Regions from separate parts of the Homo sapiens genome. Here regions 2, 3, 4 and 5 are each linked to region 1. Evidence: promoter capture Hi-C in human tissues and cell types (Jung and others, 2019). All regions are on one chromosome and are shown on one strand. The core of a region is centred on a gene start or on the middle of the fragment in contact, and the rest is flanking DNA. Distances in the headings are between cores, read along the strand shown.

Region 1 (2,700 bases), core at 14-2,513:
CTGCTGGAGCTGTCTCCTAATCAGGTCACTGCTAGAGTTCCTCTTCCTAAATGTCCCAGTGCCATGACTTTGGTGCTCTAGCTTGTGGGATTGAATCAATCTAAGAGTCCAGAGTCTATGAGGACTCCTTCTTCTCTATTGTATGCTGCTGTCTGAAGCTAAATGCTATTGTACAAGTTTTGTTGCTGTTTAGATTTTTTTTTGTTCCCAGATTATTGTTCCAAAAATAGACCTACGATATATTCTTATACATTTGAATTTAATTAAGAACCTTTTTCTCAATGACATAAATATGGTTTTACTATTTCCAGCCAGGCCAGACAAAGATGCCTGAAGACAGATTTCTAAATGATGCTATGTGCCAATTTCTCTGATCTTTTTAATATTGTAACTAAGGGGCCTTGCTCTGAGATGGTGGTTTACGATTTTGACATGCTGTCCTGTACCACTCTCTGATCACAAGGGAATACGTAGAAACTCACCAAAGCAACTGCTGTCAGTCATCAAAGTGGAGCCACATTGTCCCTTCTAACCTCATAAGGATCCTTATGGGATTCAGGATGATCACATTTTCAGTGCTCTAAGGACTGTCTCCGTATGACCCCAGCCATACCATGCCCATTACTGATGTATTTGACCTGTTGAGCCTCCAACAGCATTGCAGACTCCACTTTTTGTGTTCCAACAGGACTAAGGCCAGAAGCGAATGTCCTATTTTTTCCTGCCATTTCTCTGCTGAGCAACAGTTCACCCTTGAAGCTGCTGCTGCCTAAAGAACAGGAGAAGATTCAGGAATGCTAACAATAGTTACCTACATATCGCATGCCCTCTGCCCTTGCCCATTGTAAGAGCCTCACCACTTGGATCAGTAAGAGTCCACACTTGCTCAGTACATCTTGGTGCTCACTTCAGCTGTGGGCTCTGATTTAAACATCCAGCTCAGGGGATGCCTCTTTGGTGCATGTCATAATCAGGAGAAGAATGCTGGCTTTGGATTCTGGAACTGACTCCATTTGTAGTGAAGAGTTTGGAGAGCATCAATAATGGGATGGCAACATTCATTCATTCATTTATACCTCTAACCAGTCTTTCCTCACATACTGGTTGAGTACTCAATACGTGCCCTGTGCTTAGCTGAGTACTGTTCAATGGTGAACAAAGAAGACATGGTCTTAACTAGAAGTTCCTATTTCAACAGAGTAGCCCAAGGAACTTCAACCACTTTTGCTACAGGTGTATTAGTTACTGCCAAGAGTCTGTAAGTGTTCATGGGCCTCATTAAGCTCTGCCTTCCTTCTGCTTTTTGGAGCCTGGCCTTTGGTTGGCCTTGAATGAAGAGTGGGGCCCCAAAAGTACCACTGTCAGCACTCTCCAGGTGAGTATTATCCTGGGAGAGGCCAGGGCATGAGGAGGGCCAGGGCGTGGGGCCCTCTGAAGGCTGTGTCATCCCAGGCTTCAGCCACAGAGGTTTTATTACGGAGGAAAGCTGAGCTGTGAGCACGTTGCTAGGCTGTGGCTATTTATTTTTATAAACGAGCCTTGTGCTTAATTTAGAAACCTGCTTTTTCTTTTTCTTTCTTCTTTCCAGCATCATCTGGCTGTCTGGCACCATCAAAGAATTGCATTTCTGACCCAAGAAGAGCTTATGGGTGGATGGGGGTGGGATGGAAGCTGGGGAGAGGATTGATGCCAGCCAGCTGCCTCACAGGGTGCTGGAAACACGTGGCCATGCCATTAGCATCCTGTTCGGCTTCTGGACGAGTTTCATCTGTGACACCTACATAGTCCTCGCTTGGATCAGCAAGATAAAAGGCAGCCCTGATGTTAGTGCCTCCTCTGATGAGCCATACGCCAGAATCCAGCAGAGCAGAAGGCAATGCCACGCAGAAGAGGACCAAAGTCAGGTGCCAGAAGCAGGTGACATCTCCACTCTCAGTTCTTTGGAGGCAGCTATTTTAATAGAACCACTTTACTGCAGCTATTTTGACATGAGGATATTTTGGTATGGCTCAAAGATTCAGCCGATAAATGTTCAGCTTTTTAAAAAATAAATGATGAGTAAAATAGGCATCTTGCAGGCCATCTGTGAGCTTCACCTCAACCTTGATCTTCACCTCCCCCCCTCCATTGTCAATCTTACCTCCAGGCATCAAGGGTGTATGGATTGGTAACAGATGAAGGAAAGGACTGGTAGAGGTTCAAAATGAAAGAAATAGCAGGTCAGGACTCCAGGAGGGTTGAGGGTCTTTTAAAGTAAAACAAAACAAACAAACAAACAAAAAAACAGGGTCAACCAAATTCAGAAGTCAGGTAGAAGTCAGAGAAGGAATGAAAGATGGGAAACTGGTTATAAACCAAATACAGCGAGTCTGAATTTTGGCTTGTTTTGAGGCTGCTGTATCAAAACAGTTGTGTTGGAAGAGCTGCATGAAATTGTTGGGCAAGAAATAGTCCACTCATGATTCAGATAAGCTCATTTTGCCTCTTCCATGGTCGATTTCTGACTCATAAATGTCTATACATTTCACTTTACGGCTTATGTGAGCCTCAGTTTCCCCACATAAAATGCAGATGATGATGTTGGCCCTTCCTCTTTCCCCACCTTTTGCTCTCCTTCCAAGTGGCATGATGAGGAATGAGCCAGCATCTTGTAAACTGCTCCAGGCCACCTGGAGAAATGTGCTTGCGTAAATAGTCGGC
Region 2 (2,700 bases), core at 19-2,518, 78 kb before region 1:
AATTTTTGTATTTTTAGTAGAGACGGGGTTTCGCCATGTTGGTCAGGCTGGACTCGAACTCCTGACCTCAAGTGATCCACCCACCTTGGCCTCCCAAAGTTCTGGGATTACAGGCGTGAGCCACCATGCCCAGCTGACTCTCTAGTTTCTAATGGCTTGAGAATTCCCCTCTTTAAGGGTATGGGCTTAATTTGCAAAAGGTGAGTTGATGTGAGACATCTAGATGGAACGCCCAACTTCAAGGCCTATTGGTCAGTAAAATCAGCTAATAAGAGTGGAGGGAGTGGGGGAATGTCCCAGAAAATTTAAGGAAGGAATCAACTAATTTCAAGTTGGAAGGGTTTTACGGACTCATGATCTCACAGAGTCTAAAGGACCTTAGGAACTTCCTTGTCCAGCCTCACACCAAACGCAAGACGGCCATAGATCTTCACCCTTTTTTGTGAGGCTCTGGTTAGGGGTAGGAAATCATCTAGATTCCCTTAGATCTTCTCTAATTCTCTGAGTCCATCACAAATTTCATCTCTAATTAATTATTGGTATTGATGGAAAAATCAGGCAAACGATTCTTTCTGATTTTTTCTCTGCCAGAACACTAGGATGTTGATTGTTACTATATCTTCGTGTGGAGGGTCTAAGATCTCCTAGGCCACATGTAGTATTTAATCCTCACTTATGAGACTGTGAGGACAGGGAGAGAGATCCGAGGGAGGAAATATCTGCTAGCAGACTTGGTGGCCTTCACGGAGGTCTCCTCCTCAGATGTTGTAGTGGCTGTTGTTCAATCTGCCTAGCACCCCTCTCCCACCTCTTCTGGTAACAGACCCAGTTCCTTTAGCTGCTTAGGGGGAACATGTCATAGTGAATGGGCCAATCCACATAATTCCTAGAGGAACTTTTCAATCCTTGTGGGTTGGGAGATGCCTATCTACTCAGGTCACAAGCTTCGGGGAAGTACACGTTGCTGATGGCCACATCCCCACCTTATGGAGAGTGAGCAGGTCTGGGAAGACGGCATCAGACAGGAGCACAAAGGAGAGGGAGGGAGTCCTGAGGGTGTTTTCAGGTCCCTCAGTCCACCATCCTTCGTTATGGTTCAGTTACATGAACAAATACATTTCCCTTTCAGGCTTAAGCTAGTTTAAGATGTATTTCTTCTATTGGCAACCCATGAGTCCTGAGTAATTTAGAATTTTTCATTCTCAGTTTTCCTGCTTTCTAGAGAGTTGGAAGAATGAACTAAAGATCAGAAACTTTTCTTCTCAGAGTCCAACTGGTCCATGATGGTTTGGGGAAGAACCTGCAGAAAGAGAGGGCAGGAAATTAGCAAGGTGAGAAATCACAAAGGTTCTTATATACAGGATCCAGTTGGTGAATTGCAGGGTCCTGTTATCTTTGCTCCTTTTTAGATCTCCACTTGCCTAAAATAAATCATGACCCTACACTTTCAAAGATCCAGGCCAACCTTGGGGCCCCAAGGTGAGTTTTTTTCTGTCTTGTGAAACTGGTGCTACTTGTGTGGTGTAAATCAGAGGGTTAGCAAGTATTCAGTGGATTTGCTGGTAAGCCCAACCTTTTGACAAAAGAGGGGGAAGAAAGAAATAAAAGTAGGGGTGGGGGAAGTAAGCTAGAAGAATAAGGAGAGAGATAGAGATGTGACTCCATCAACAAAATACTGATTGAGTATCTTCTACGTGTAAGACTGTGCTAGTTTCAACTTGCCATTCTAAATCAACAAATAGAACCCTTATTTGTGACTACAGAGGCTGAGAGTTAGGTGTGTCTGGTGTAAGACAGATGCACACCCAGGTATGACCAGCAAGCAGCAAAGTCAATAGGCAATTACTCAGGAAGGCTGTTATGGAAGGAATGAGAATGAATGGGCCCACGCTGACTTAGAAATTAAGTTAAAACATATGGCAAATGTTTTTCTGATATGCACTTAAAGCCTGGAACAGTCCAAGAGGCCCTGGGTTTCCCTGAGAGGGAGGCTTTTAGGAAGAGTGTAGGCTGCCTGTGGCTGCTGCACCTAACTGGATTACAGGCCTCTGTGACGCTGCCCATCACATCTGCTTTTCAGTAATGCCGTAGGGGAGGCAAGCTGTCCCCTTAGACCCTTAGCATGATCTGTCTATGGGTTTCACATTTTTTCCTGGCAGAGTTAGTTTTTCGTGTTTGTTTTGTGAAGAAAAACTTTGTATACTTCTTTCCTTTTTTTTCCTTTGCAATAAAGTGTTGAACAAAATGTATACTATTTTGTCCAAACTTTTTAAGCTTCCAGATTTGGATATGGTGTTTATGTCTGTGGCTTTTAGAAAGTCTGAATGGATCTGAAAGGTCAGAAAATACCTAAACATTTGACTCTACCCTTCAGCTCACACGTGATTGGCTGTGCATTGTTTTATTTTTAAAAATGGTAAATGAGAAACTATTCTTTAGTCATATCTTGTTCTCAGAGCCTTTCCCCCTCTTGCAGACTGTGCCGCCACCCAAAAGCTTGAAAACACCCCAGGAAGCCATCCCCTCATTGTGAAATGACTAATCACCACACACCACTTGGTTTTCCTTCCTGGACGTCATAGGCCATAGCCCTGTAGTTCCCACATTGTCTCTGTCATCATCCCAAGGAGTGTGACTCTTGATTCTGAGCCTGGGCAGGACAGCCTGTCTCAGCACAGGCTGTTATATAAGCGGCTGTGG
Region 3 (2,700 bases), core at 190-2,689, 78 kb after region 1:
TATACTGTAAGATTCCAAATATAAGACATTCTGGAAAAGGCAAGTTTCCAGAGATAGTTAAAAAAAAAAAAATCAGTGGTTACCAAGAATATGGGGGGAGAGAGAGAGGGATGGATAGGTGGAACTTAAGGTATTTTAGTGGAACTATTGTATATAAAACTGTAATGGTGAATACATGACATCATGCATTTGGCAAAACCTATAGAACTGCACAGCACAGCGTGAATCCTAATGTAAACTGTGGACTTTAGTTAATAATAATGTATTGATATTTGTTCACCAACTGTAGCAAAAGTACTGTATTGGTGCAAGATGTTAATAGGGGAAACTGTTGGGGGAGGATGCAAGTGGGTAGAGAAGGGGTATTTTGGGAAGTTTGCTTTTCTGCTAAATTTTTTCTGTAAACCTAAAAATGCTCTAAAAATAAAATCTATAGGCTAATGCAGACAGATCACAAGGTCAGGAGATAGAGACCATCCTCGCCAACATGGTGAAACCCTGTCTCTACTAAAATACAAAAAATTAGCCTGGTGTGGTGGTGTGTGCCTGTAATCCCAGCTACTCGGGAGGCTGAGGCAGGGGAATTACTTGAACCTGGGAGGTGGAGATTGCAGTGAGCCAAGTTTGCCCACTGTAGTCCAACCTGGCCGCAGAGTGAGACTACAATTCAAAAAAAAAAAAAAAAAAAAAAAAAAACACACATTTGGACCTGCCTCTGTTGCTGCTGGGAGCCCTGTGACCATGTGAAAAAGCCCAAGTTATCCCACTAGAGAGGCCACATGGAGGAAAACCAAGACATCCAGGCTGCCAATTTCCAACTTAGAACATCCTGGACCATCCAACTCCAGCTGAGATGCCAGCTGACTGCAGTCGCATGACTGAGCCTGGAAGTGAGCAGCCTTTGAACCATCCAGAGAAGCAAAGCTCAAGCTGCCACCTCACAGAATTGTGAGGAAGTGAATGAAAGTTGTTTTCAGTCACTACGTTTTTGAGTGTTTTGTTATATAGTAAAGGCTAACTGATACAGAAGTATATTCAATAATAATGTTTATAGTGAGAGCACATGGGTTCTATTTTATTAAGAAAATATGCATTTATTAAAGTATTGTTTATTTCACCTATATTTCATCTTTTAAAATTATTGTACTTGAACATAATAGATGCACATTATATACATTCTTAATATATAATAATAAATTAATATACATATAACTTTCAATGATAAAAGTGAATAATCAAAATATTTGAAAGAACATCCCATGCTGGGGATAAAGGACTCTGGAGACCCAGAAAATTCTTTGCAGTCTTCAGGTCCTAGGAGTGCCCCTCCTCCCTCCTAATCTTCCCAGTGGTTCAGCCATTTCTTAAATATGAGATAATAGGACAGGTAAGTATAATTCAGAGTGGCCCGTAATTATTTTATGCCAAACAGAACTTCAGCCAACAAATAAAGGTAAAATCTACAAATGTCTACTTAATTTTTCATTTTTAAAGAACAAAATCCTCGAGCTGTCGTTGTTTTTATAGTTGTAAACCTGTTACTGATTCTAACCTGATGTGAGAATTAGTATGAGTCCTTGATGTAACTGCAATTCTTTCAAACTCAGTTTCAATAGGAAGAATCAATGTTGTGAAAATGGCCATACTGCCCAAAGTAATTTATACATTCAATGCTATCCCCATCAAGCTACCACTGACTTTCCTCACAGAATTGGAAAAAAGTACTTTAAATTTCATATGGAACAAAAAAAGAGTCCACATAGCCAAGACAATCCTGGACAAGAAGAACAAAGCTGGAGGCATCACACTACCTGACTTCAAACTCTACTGCAAGGCTATAGTAACCAAAACAGCATGGTACTCGTACCAAAACAGATATATAGACCAATGGAACAGAATGGAGCCCTCAGAAATAACACCACACATCTACAGCCATCTGATCTTTGACAAGCCTGACACACACAAGCAATGGGGAAAAGACTCCCTATTTAATAAACGGTGTTGGGAAAACATATGCAGAAAACTGAAACTGGACCCCTTCCTTACACCTTTTACAAAAATCAACTCAAGATGGATCAAAGACTTAAAAGTAAGACCTAGGACCATAAAAATCCTAGAAGAAAAGCTGGGCAATACTATTCAGGACATAGGCATGGGCAAGGACTTCATGTCTAAAACACCAAAAGCAATGGCAACAAAAGCCAAAATTGACAAATGGGATCTAATTAAACCAAAGAGCTTCTGCACAGCAAAAGAAACTATCATCAGAGTGAAGAGGCAACCTACAGAATGGGAGAAAATTTTTGCAATCTATCCATCTGACAAAGGGCTAATAACCAGAATCTACAGAGAACTTAAACAAATTTACAAGAAAAAAACAACCCCATCAAAAAAATGGGCAAAAGATATGAACAGACACTTCTCAAAAGAAGACATTTATGCAGCCAACAGACACATGAAAAAATGCTCATCATCACTGGCCATCAGAGAAATGCAAATCAAAACCACAATGAGATACCACCCCACACCAGTTAGAATGGCAATCATTAAAAAGTCAGGAAACAACAGATGCTGGAGAGGTTGTGGAAAAATAGGAATGCTTTTATGCTGTTGGTGGGAGTGTAAATTAGTTCAACCATTGTGGAAGACAGTGTGGCAATTCCTCAAGGATCTAGAACTGGAAATACCATTTGACCCAGC
Region 4 (2,700 bases), core at 99-2,598, 110 kb before region 1:
TTTTTTTTTTTTTTTTTGCAGCTGCAGAGTCAACAGCAGTCCTATTTCCCCTAAATTTGCAAAGGGATAGTGAGCTCATGGGAGAGAAAAAGAAAACAGGAAAACAGTGATGGGGTATTTGGGGACTGAAAATGCAAAACTAAATAGATGCAAAGTTCATTTTAAGACATTTTCTTCCTGGGACCATGGCTTACTCCCCAGGTGTAAATATTTCTCTTATCAAAAGACTTCCTTTTGTTTTGGGCAATGGGTAATTTATCTGGAGTCCTTTGGCCTCTAGATTATGTCTTAGTATACCGGTTGGTAGAGAGTCCCTCTCTTTCCCGCTGTTGTGTTGACATGGCCTCCATTAAACACCACAGAATTTAGGATTTGTGCTGCTTGCTTCTTTATGAGGCTGGTGCCTGATAGTGGGGCCACACAAAACTGCTTCCCCTCCAGAACAAACTTGATGAGCTGATAAGTGATATAGCCATGCCCGGTACTGTTTTCATAAGTGGGTTAAATTCACATTTGCAAATTCAGTAGAGCAGCCCTTGTCCATCTCACTGTGTCGCTGTGCAGAGGAGCTGAGTTCTGAAAAGCTCTGGTTTCCTTCTCTGTAAGCCTTGCTGGCACATTTTCAAAGACCACATCAGTCAGTGTGAGTGGTCCTGGGTCCTTTCCATGCAGCTGGCTCAGAGTTTTACAGACCCTGTAACAGAATCTCATAAAGACTGGCTGCCATTTGGGGTTAAAGTCTGGTGCTTCTCCCTCTTTTCTTGTATGAAGATTTGATTTTTAGATTTGTTTGGAAAATGACTTTGTTAGCCTAAATCATCTTAGGCTTCAATGTTAAAATAGAGTGGAATATGCAGTAGTTGACTCATACTATTGTAGCTAGACAACTTGTCACTTAATACTTCATGACTTTAGGGATTGGTTAAATTAATAATTTTATAAGGCACATAGACGCCAGAGAGCTTCCTCCATTTTGTTCTTTTCTCTAGCAATGTGCGTCATCATTACACCCCTACCAAATAGTGTATTTTAGAACCTGTTATGCATAACTCTGCCTCTGCTTTCACTTTCTGTTTCCCTCTCTCTCTGCCTCTCCCTCGGCCTCTATGTCTCTTTCATTCACTCTTACTTATATATACTAAAATATTGCAAATTCGCTCCCTAATAATTAGGAAGTTTTTTGCATGTGGCTTGAGGTTGTCCTTCAAAGGTTTTAAATATGTGTTGATGAGAATAGGCATAGGGAGGCAGGTGTGGGACAGCAGATGGAAGGGATGCTCTGTGTTCAAAGATCCCACCCTAGTGAAGTGAAGCTTCTACCTGGGGTTAAAGACCAACTTCCTGATTGTAACAGCTGTGACCCAGAATCTACTCTGGGGTTGACTTCTTCTGAGAGCTGATTTGGCTGTGTGAGCCTGGAATACTGAAGTCAGGAGTGGGAGCAGCAGCAGCGACAGCAGGAGTATGTTTGCCATCAGGCATCAGTGAGCTCCTAACCCCTGGCCAGCCCGGTGTGGTGGGAAAGCACAGGTTTTGCAGTCAGGGGAGCTGGGTTGGAGTTCAGGGTTCAGCCATTTACTAGCTTTATGGTGCTGGGCAATTTATTCAATATCTCTAGTCATCAATTTACTTTTTTATTGTTGTAAAAGAAATACCTCATGTTGGTTATTGTGAAGGTTAACTGAGCAATGAATGTGCAGGTATGGGGAGTTTCAGATGCAAGCTTTGTCTCTGTCCCTTGAGAGGACAGTGTGTCATGTGACCCATTTGAGAATACCAGTGATTTAGCGCAAAAAGTTGCTTTATCTCTTCATTCCTTCAATTTTTTGTTAATACATTTGCTCATTCATTCAATGCTGGCCACGAAGCATGTGACACCAGTCAGGTGTTGGGGATACTGCTGTGAAGAGTCCGACCCTCTCCTCCTCCTACCAGTCTGGGGGAGATGCTGACCACAAATGACAGTCACAATCCAGTGTGGAGAAGCACCACACTGGGGAAAGTACAACATGCTCTGGTGGCTTTGGAGTGTCAGACAACAGAGCGGGGAAGAGGTTAGGAAAAGAAGTGGCCCACAGGATAAAAACAAGCAGCTGGGTGAAGGTGAGGCAGAGGATGTAGCATGGCACACAGCAGTGGTGAAGAAATGAGGATGGCGGGCCCTCTGTAGATAGGTGGACATGCCTGGAGTATCGAGTGTGAGGGTCGTGTTGAGATATATACAGAGATATGGAGCCATCACAAGCTATCTGCACCCAGGAGCTTTCTCCTGGCCTCCCCAGTGACGTTCTGTACCTCAGATGTTGATTCCATGGATGCTGTCATCACCAAAGATGGGATGGATGCTGGGACACTCCTAGCACTTAGAGTTAGAACTTGCAATACATGTTTCCCGTAGAAACAGCATGTTAAATGGTAGTTCAATGTAGTTAGGATATTGCTACAAATAACACCTTTGAGTGTACTTAATTTAAACCTGTGAAATGTAGAAAAATCAAAGAGGACAGGTCCTGTTCCAGGCTAGAGGTACTTTTTGCAATGCAGAGCACTATCCTTCTAGATCTGGCCAGCAGAGCATGAATCGGGACCTCAGGCTGGCTTTGCCTGCATTTGGATTTGAATTTGAATGTTTTGGTCTAGGAGGCTCTCTGCACAGGGTTTCCATGATTCCATCACTCCCTGCTGTTTCATATCTGGCTG
Region 5 (2,700 bases), core at 126-2,625, 120 kb after region 1:
GTTATCTAAATCAAGCAATGAGTAATAGTGAGAATTTCGGGTCCAGTCACTGTGAAAGGTAGGTGCAGGGAACATGGGAAGAGGGGACCAAAAGGTGACGTTTTATGGCATGGGTCAAGGCAGAGCACCTGCATATCCCACCTGTGTAGAGCGGGAGCCAGGTCACAGGTTGGTGAAGCGGCATCTGCAGCAACGTGCCATGGCCGCCCTGTTTCTGTCTTGCTTCTGACTGGGCAGTCATGTGGAGAAATGAAAATGAATGGAGAAATTAAAAAGGTGACCTAATTTTCTGCTGAAAGCATTTCCAGTCATAGGTCTGAGTGCATTTTAATTATACCTGGACACAGGGGCTCCGACTCAGACGTAACTGCAGTCCTGAGTGGACTGTCCCTGTGGCTGTAAAGAGTTGTCTGAGCCTGTGCTTCTCTCAAGAGCCTGGCATCACACTGATCATTAAGCAACTGCGCAGAGGAGCAGCTGGGCATTTCCATGGCAACCTGCACTGGGTTGCCTGCAGAGCTTGGTAGCAAGAGCATTTTATTATGGGTCATTAAGGGCAAAAGGCTTGATTTACATTATTTCCTGCAAAATCCTTTTATTTCAGGTGTTACATTCCATCTCCATCTATGCTGCTTTTCTAGAAAAATATCATGAGGGTTATTAGGTGGAGAAACCATAAGAGGCTTCAGGTAAACCAAGCCATGCAGTGATCTGTAGATGAGAAAAGTATTTTGCCAAAGGGATGTGTGGTCCAGAGGTATCTAGTGTTCTCCGAGGCCAGAGAATTCTTGCTGTGAAATGTGAAGTCATTCCTTTTATTGTCTGTTCCCTTTGCCTGAGTCATGCTTTTGAGTGGCATTCATGAGGATTCTTGGATTCTGTGTTCTGCTAAATAAATAACAACAAATCTGGCCTGACTGTTCCTTAGCCACATTAGCTGCTGTCCCAGGTGTCTTATATTCCAGAGTGACCAACATGCAGCAAAAGGTAGCTCCTATCAGCGCTTAAGCACATAAAACTCTAGAAAGCCATGAGCCTCTCTCTCTCCTCTTGTCTGTACTTGGGAGCAGGGAGATTAAGCATTCAACTCTAGCTAGTGTCTTTCTGGTAGCCCGGGCCCCTGGCCAGTACTGCACGGTGACCTGGAGCGGATGGACAGTGATTGCTTTTGAAGTGTAGTAGCATTAAGTCTATTTGGGGAAGGGACCCTGGAAGGTCATTGTCTCACAGCTCCATCTGCTATCTATGATTAAGGATATCAAATCTACAGAGGCCATACCACAAATGCCGTAGAATGTGCTCAAGCTTCCAAACCTGTGTAACCCGACGATAGTTAACTTAGGCCTTTCTGAATGCTCACAAGTACTTTATGACTGAGAAGATGCTGAGGGTCTTGCCCGCCAGGATGAAAGCTGAAAACTAGAGACAAGCAGCAGTGGGGTATCATTCTTAAGTTTTTTGAGTTAATTTAGTATGTAAGGAATATGCGAGAATCTTCCCTGTTCAGAAAAAGCGTTTGCCTAAATGAGTGGAACAATGGGCATGTCATTGAATTAGCTCACGATTTCACTGGCATTTCACACCATCCTCCAAGGATGCAGTAATCGACTTCAGATGACCTAAAGCAGAGCTGTGACCAGCAAGTGGGTGATTGTGCATCCTCTGCTTATAAAGACGATGCTACTGAATTGAAGGCTATTTTTTTTTTAACAAAAGACTTCCTCCTTTTAATATTCACCAGAACTGTTAGAGCTAGAAAAAGTAGATTTTTGTGTCAAATTTCAATCTTTGAACTATAGGATTAAGGCATCCCTAATATGAACAGTGCAGTCTCTTCTATTTGGGTTGAGTGACCCAAGGCAGAAGGCAGGGGAATTAAGACAATGTGGAGAATGTTCTTGGGTGTATCTCCTGGTGAGACAGAAGGACCAGAGAGGTGAGAACAGTTCAGATTTCCTGCTGAGCAGCATGAGGCACCAACACATAGGACATCCAGCATACCTTTCAAGTCCAGAAGATATGACTTGAGGGTTATGACAAAGAGATTATTTTACAACTTGCTTTTCTTGCCCCACCAAACTGTTTAGGCTAGATTAGATTTGGAAAATGAGGCTATACTATAGATACACAGTGTCCAGTATGTCAACACTTAACAGAACAGAGGTGCATATGAGTTTTGATAGTTTTATATCAGCAGTTACCTCTAGCTAAAAGGATTGCCGCTACATGATGTGTCAAACATCCCTTTAAAATGATTGCAATTTAAGAAGTCCAAGGCCGAGGCGGGCAGATCGCGAAATCAAGAGATCGAGGCCATCCTGGCCAACATGGTGAAACCCTGTCTCTACTAAAAATACAAAAAAATTAGCTGGGTGTGGTGGTGTGTGCCTGTCTTCCCAGCTACTAGGGAGGCTGAGGCAGGAGAATCACTTGAATCTAGAAAGTGGAGGTTGCAGTGAGCTGAGATCACGCCATTGCACTCCAGCCTGACTCCGTCTCCAAAAAAAAAAAAAAAAAAAAAAAAGGCTCCTATTTCAGGAGGCAAATCTTCCAGCTATGTAAATCAGTGAGTATACAAATGATTAGAGAGAATTTTAGAGTGAAAAGGGCAGTTTTACAGGCAACTCCCCACAGCTGGATTAAAAGATGGCATTTAATCATAAATTATTGTGCTAAACCCCCTCCTTCAGCTCTGATATG

The links. Contacts are between HindIII fragments. The study calls those that stand out against the background at their distance.
Region 2: a contact is called between a fragment that was not itself captured here and the fragment with the promoter of SMIM2 in region 1, in 4 of the 25 tissues and cell types used here (aorta, dorsolateral prefrontal cortex, hippocampus and 1 more).
Region 3: a contact is called between a fragment that was not itself captured here and the fragment with the promoter of SMIM2 in region 1, in 2 of the 25 tissues and cell types used here (IMR-90 fibroblasts and aorta).
Region 4: a fragment that was not itself captured here is called in contact with the fragment with the promoter of SMIM2 in region 1 in 2 of the 25 tissues and cell types used here (aorta and hippocampus).
Region 5: a fragment that was not itself captured here is called in contact with the fragment with the promoter of SMIM2 in region 1 in 2 of the 25 tissues and cell types used here (bladder and dorsolateral prefrontal cortex).

Annotation. Positions count from the first base shown.
Region 1 is chr13:44,159,820-44,162,519 of GRCh38, reverse strand. SMIM2 (small integral membrane protein 2) reads left to right here and starts at 1,263. Exons shown (of 3, transcript NR_197392.1): 1 at 1,263-1,375; 2 at 1,589-1,917. RefSeq lists an enhancer at 2,132-2,700. The HindIII fragment of the contact is 7,742 bases long and covers 1-2,700 here.
Region 2 is chr13:44,237,428-44,240,127 of GRCh38, reverse strand. No RefSeq gene overlaps it. Among named protein-coding and RNA genes, the nearest start is that of MIR8079, 43 kb to the right of the region's middle. The HindIII fragment of the contact is 4,630 bases long and covers 1-2,700 here.
Region 3 is chr13:44,082,486-44,085,185 of GRCh38, reverse strand. No RefSeq gene overlaps it. Among named protein-coding and RNA genes, the nearest start is that of SMIM2-AS1, 27 kb to the left of the region's middle. The HindIII fragment of the contact is 6,764 bases long and covers 1-2,700 here.
Region 4 is chr13:44,272,909-44,275,608 of GRCh38, reverse strand. No RefSeq gene overlaps it. Among named protein-coding and RNA genes, the nearest start is that of MIR8079, 78 kb to the right of the region's middle. RefSeq lists an enhancer at 968-1,147. The HindIII fragment of the contact is 5,200 bases long and covers 1-2,700 here.
Region 5 is chr13:44,043,146-44,045,845 of GRCh38, reverse strand. No RefSeq gene overlaps it. Among named protein-coding and RNA genes, the nearest start is that of NRAD1, 22 kb to the right of the region's middle. The HindIII fragment of the contact is 3,892 bases long and covers 1-2,700 here.